2 separate regions of the Homo sapiens genome follow, and region 2 is linked to region 1. The links are contacts of gene promoters, found by promoter capture Hi-C in human tissues and cell types (Jung and others, 2019). All regions are on one chromosome and are shown on one strand. The core of a region is centred on a gene start or on the middle of the fragment in contact, and the rest is flanking DNA. Distances in the headings are between cores, read along the strand shown. Region 1 has its middle 16 kb from the start of OR7C2. Region 2 holds the start of CYP4F3 (cytochrome P450 family 4 subfamily F member 3).

The links. Contacts are between HindIII fragments. The study calls those that stand out against the background at their distance.
Region 2: the fragment with the promoter of CYP4F3 here is called in contact with a fragment that was not itself captured in region 1 in 4 of the 25 tissues and cell types used here (dorsolateral prefrontal cortex, heart right ventricle, lymphoblastoid cells and 1 more).

Annotation. Positions count from the first base shown.
Region 1 is chr19:14,924,487-14,927,186 of GRCh38, forward strand. No RefSeq gene overlaps it. Among named protein-coding and RNA genes, the nearest start is that of OR7C2, 16 kb to the right of the region's middle. The HindIII fragment of the contact is 7,045 bases long and covers 1-2,700 here.
Region 2 is chr19:15,639,579-15,642,278 of GRCh38, forward strand. It overlaps CYP4F3 (cytochrome P450 family 4 subfamily F member 3), which reads left to right and starts at 1,319. Exons shown (of 13, transcript NM_000896.3): 1 at 1,319-1,367; 2 at 1,837-2,035. The coding sequence starts at 1,838. The HindIII fragment of the contact is 9,363 bases long and covers 1-2,700 here.

The sequences.
Region 1 (2,700 bases), core at 47-2,546:
GTGACTGGAGGTGAGAACAGCTTGCTATAAACACAGTCCCAGGAGTCCTCATTCAGCTTCAAGTGTGTGCCTGTGTGTGTGTCTGTACTAATTGTGCATATGTGTGTCTGTCTTTAGTGGGGAGAGTGATTTCAAAATAACATCATTAAACAGAATTGAAAGGAGCCTTGCTAATTAACTGAAACAAGATATGAAGTAGCAATAATTTAATGTTTTCAACATGGATAAATAATTAAAGTTGCAAAGACCTAGGCATAAAAGAATATGACATACAAATGAGGTAGAGATATCCCTTTTAAGAGTAGAGGGACGCAGTGGCTCACGCCTGTAGTCCCAGTACTTTGGGAGGCCGAGGCAGGCAGATCACGAGGTCAGGAGATCGAGACCATCCCGGCTAACATGGTGAAACCCTGCCTCTACTAAAAATGCAAAAAAATTAGCCGGGCGTGGTGGCGGGCGCCTGTAGTCCCAGCTACTTGGGAGGCTGAGTCAGGAGAATGGTGTGAACCTGGGAGGCGGAAGTTGCAGTGAGCCGAGATCGCGCCACTGAACTCCAGCCTGGGCAACAGAGCGAGACTCCGTCTCAAAAAAAAAAAAAAAAAAAAAAAAAGTAAAGGGACCTGGACTCAATATATTCCAAAAGGTGACTCAGAATACAGAGGTCAGCACGCAAGGCAGCATATGGAAATAAACAAAGGATGCATTTCAATTCATGGGACATGGAGCCAATTTATTAAAGTGCAAATAGAAAACATCAGGACAAGCCTGGGCGTGGTGGCTCACGCCTGTAATCCCAGCACTTTGGGAGGCCGAGACAAAAGGATCACTTGAGGTCAGGAGTTTGAGACCAGCCTGGCCAACATGGTGAAGCCCCATCTCTACCAAAAAATATAAATCTTAGCAGGGCATGGTAGCAGGCACCTGTAGTCTCAGCTACTTGGGAGGCTGAGGCAGGAGAATCTCTTGAACCCAGGAGGTGGAGGTTGCAGTGAACCCACATCATGCCACTGCACTCCAGCCTGGCCGACAGAGTGAGACTCTGTCTCAAAACCAAACCAAACCAAACAAAATCTGGGCAGAGGGACTTCTTGTATTTTGAAGCTTCAGCAGCAATGAAGTCACCTCATAGTGCAACATCTTCTGACACCATCTCCCATCACTTACCTCTCACAGATTTCCCTGCCACACTGGCTTCCTCGTTGGCCTTGAACATCTGAAACCTTCCTCTACACCTTTGCACCGGCCATTCTTTCTGCTGGGCACACACATTCCCAGATATCCTCATGGCTCCCGCCCTGTCTTCCTTGAGGTCTCATTTCTCTTTTTAAAAATTTCAGCTTTTCTTACAGATTAAAGGGTACATGTGCAGGTTTGTTACACGGGTAAATTGTGTGATGCTGAGGCTTCGGGTCCTAACAATCCCATCACTCAGGAGGTAAGCATAGGACCCAACAGATGGTTCTTCAGCTCACATCCCCCTCCCTCCATCCTCTGTCCAGCGGTCTCCAGTGTCAATTGTTCCCATCTTTGTGTTCACGTATATTCGATGTTTAGCTACCATTTATAAGTGAGAACATGCGATATTTGGTTTTCTGTTCTTGCATTAGGTCGCTCAGAATAACGGCCTCTAGCTTCATCCATGTAGCTGGAAAGGACATGATTTCATTCTTTTTTATGGCTGCCTAGTATTCCATGGTGTATAAGTACCACAGTTTCTTTGTCCAATCCACTATTGATGGGCACCTATCACCTTGACTGCTAGTATTCTCTGGACACCTAGGAAAATTAACATCCTCTATCCACCCTCGCCTTTTTACCTTCTTTCTTTTTCTTGCTAGCCCTGGTTACCATCTGACACAGTATATGATTTACTTGTATTCTTCTCCATACTTCACTGTAGGAACTTTTGTTTTTCAGCACTGTTCACTCATTGTCTAGACAGAGCCTGGAACGTTGACAACACTCAATTTAAATTCCTCAAATCCATGAAAGAATTTATCATTAAAGTATTGGTTTTTGTTTTGTTTTGTTTTGTTTTGTTTGAGATGGAGTTTTGCTCTTGTAGCCCAGGCTGGATGGAGTGCAATGGCGCCATCTTGGCTCCCTGCAACCTCTGCCTCTCAGGTTCAAATGATTCTCCTGCCTCAACCTCCCGAGTAGCTGGGATTACGGGCACGCACCACCACATCCGGCTAACTTTGTATTTTTAGTAGAGATGGGTTTTCTCCATGTTGGTCAGGCTGGTCTTGAACTCCCGACCTCAGGTGACCCGCCCACCTCTGCCTCCCAAAGTGCTGGGATTACAGGTGTGAGCCACCGCACCCGGCAAAGTTTTTAAATAAATGACCATTTGGGGAAAAGTTGAGCATCATGGGAAAGGAATTCCTAAGCAGAGATGGGATGGGAGATCTCATAAAGTAGACCAGATTCACACACAAAATATAGAAATTAACTTGCTGACTGTAGGATATAAATAATAGCTTTTCTGATGGGTGAAAAAAGCATGCTTATGTCATGTATTTTCTCTCTCTCTCTTTTTTTTTTTTTTATAGTCACCTCTACCACATGGAACCAGAGAATGATACACGAATTTCAGAATTTCGACTTCTGGGATTTTCAGAAGAACCCAGACTGCAACGATTTCTCTTTGGTAAAAGGCAAAAGATTTATACAATTTGAAGAGAAACCAGAGCATAACGA
Region 2 (2,700 bases), core at 69-2,568, 720 kb after region 1:
TTTATGTAGATCAGGAAACACTCAGTAGGAAGTCACCATATAGAGCAGGTGGTATCAGTAGGCACTGTTTATGTAGAGCACTTGGCACTCAGTAGGCATGTGTTATGTAGACAGCAACTGGTGCTCAGTGGGCACTCTTCATATACAGGGGGTGGCACTCAATAGGCACTCACTATGTAGAGCAGGTGGCACACAGTAGGCACTCTATGAGGAATATCAGGAACTGAGTATACAGGGTTAATGTAGAGCACCTGGCACACAGTAGGCACACTTTATGGAAAGCACTTGGCACAGAGTAGACAGGATTTAGCACCTGGCACACAGTAGCTGCCCTTCATTTAGAGTATTGGCACACAGTAGAAGTACTTTCCATGCAGCCTTTGTGCAGAGTAGAGACTGGCACACAGCAGCTCAAGTGCTAGTTGCCACCCTTTCCCTTCACTCCTTTTTGGGGCTCCCTCCTCTTAGGAGCCCTCATTGTCCCCCGCTAAGGCCCTCATCGAACATCCCATTTCCCAGATGGGAAGACTGCACCCAGGAGGGGCAGTACTGACCAAAGTCAGAGCAAGGATGAGGCAGAATGAGGACTCCATTCATGGTTCCCTGGCTCTGCCCTTCCCCTGCCTGGACCCCATCCGTTCCCTCTCATCCTAACCCTCCACGTCCCCGCTCTGTCCTCCTATACTGAGTCCGGCCTCCAGATTTGCTTTTCCAGCTGAGCTCTTAATCTCCAGAATCTGACCCAGGTAATCCTCAGTGGGGCTGGATTCTTTGTTCCCGTTCCTAGCAGTCAGGTCTCCAACAGGGCCCTGGACTGCCTGGAGGCAAGACTTGAACTCCATCCAGCAGCAGGGGGATAGAGGCTTGTCTCTTCCAGGTTGCCTGATTCAGCATCCAGAAGTGGTACACGGTGTCCTACCGGCCCAGGGTTAGAGAGGAGCACAGGAGATGATCTGGAACAAGGCTTGGCCTGGCCTGGCTCGCTTGACACCTGAACTCTCAAGTTCATGCTTTTATCTGCCACACACTCAGTAGGTGCTCTTTAAGAGCAGGTGTCACACAGTGGAAACTCTATCTGACCCCTCTCGGCTTACTCTCCACCTTATGTGGGAGGTGCTGAGACCTGAGGATCCAGTGCCTGTGCTGTGTCACCCTGAGCTGGTTCCTCTGCATCCAGCTGGTCTCCCACACCCAGGTTTTGGCCAGCTGCCCAGACATGGGAGCGGCACCCAGGCTGTGGGGATTGGCTGGCCCAGCCCAGCCCAGCCTAGCCTCCCACAGCCTTCCCTACATCAGGGGCCAGGGGAAAAAACCTCCCAGAAGAAGGGGAGAGGAGGTTGTGTGGGACAAGGTGCTCCTGACAGAAGGTGCCAGGGTGGGGGTGGTGGGCCTGGGGCATCCTAGCCTGTGATGGAGATGGGCACTGGGCAAGGGATTGGGCGCACACATAGGGGAGCCCCAGCCTTCCCACATTCTCCATTGCTGCCCAAGGCCCAGGCAGCTCCTGGTTGCTGGCTTGGAGGATGAGTGGTTTTCTAACTGAAACCAAGCCCCTGGCAACGTCCTAATGATTCAGGCTGGGCCTTTCTGGACTTTAATCAGTTTCTCTGTCTTTCTCAATCTAAGTGCTTACCGGGTAACTGGAGGCCACTTGGTTGCTGGTTTTGGCTGGGCCTTTCTGGACTTTACCCCTCAGCCCCTGTTTATCCATCCCTGTTTACTCTTACTGTTCTATCTCCAGCACTGCCCGTCTCTGCCTCTCTCCACTGTCCCTGGAGCTCCCTGGGCCCTTCCCTGGGCCTCAGGACCTCACTCACCACCCCATCTGCCCTGCAGGATGCCACAGCTGAGCCTGTCCTCGCTGGGCCTTTGGCCAATGGCAGCATCCCCGTGGCTGCTCCTGCTGCTGGTTGGGGCCTCCTGGCTCCTGGCCCGCATCCTGGCCTGGACCTATACCTTCTATGACAACTGCTGCCGCCTCCGGTGTTTCCCGCAACCCCCGAAACGGAATTGGTTCTTGGGTCACCTGGGCCTGGTGAGTGTGGCAGCAGGACGGGTCTGGGGTCTCAGGGTGGATGGACTTCCTGAGGGGTAAGAATGAGGCTCAGGTGAGAGGGGGTGGGCTGGGGTCTGGGGTGGCAGAGAAGCAGGGGAGGCGTCTTACTCATTCCTCTGCTTACTCATTTCTGTGAGGTGCCAACCCAAGCCCTTCTCACCTCCCTGTTCTCCCACTCTTGGCCTGTGTTGAATCCTTTTCCTGCCTGTCTTTCCACATTAATGCACCTCTGCGGGGCTCTTGGGCAGGGGGTTGGGTGCACAGAAAGGTGAACCCCTGGCGTTCCCACATTCTCCATTGCTGGACTCGAGGCCTCCTGTACCCACTGTTCAGGGTCCTCTCCCTACCTGGCCTATTTCCTCTTATGAGGGTATAGGTGGGCCAGAGGAGAGGTGTGGGCTGTCTCTCACCTCCACCACATCCGGAGGCACCTTCCTCTTATCTTGTTCCTCCCCAGTAAGATGTCCCAATGGGGTCCTGTTGCCAAACCCACATAAAAGTTGGCCACTCACTTCCCCTTTCAGAAGCCTTCCCTGACCTTTCTCCTCCCCCAGACCTTGCCCTCTGACTTAGACCTGCTCTCCCCTTTGCGGAACGTGGTCTCAATCTGCTCATTGCAAATGGCAGGATTGATGGGTGTGTCC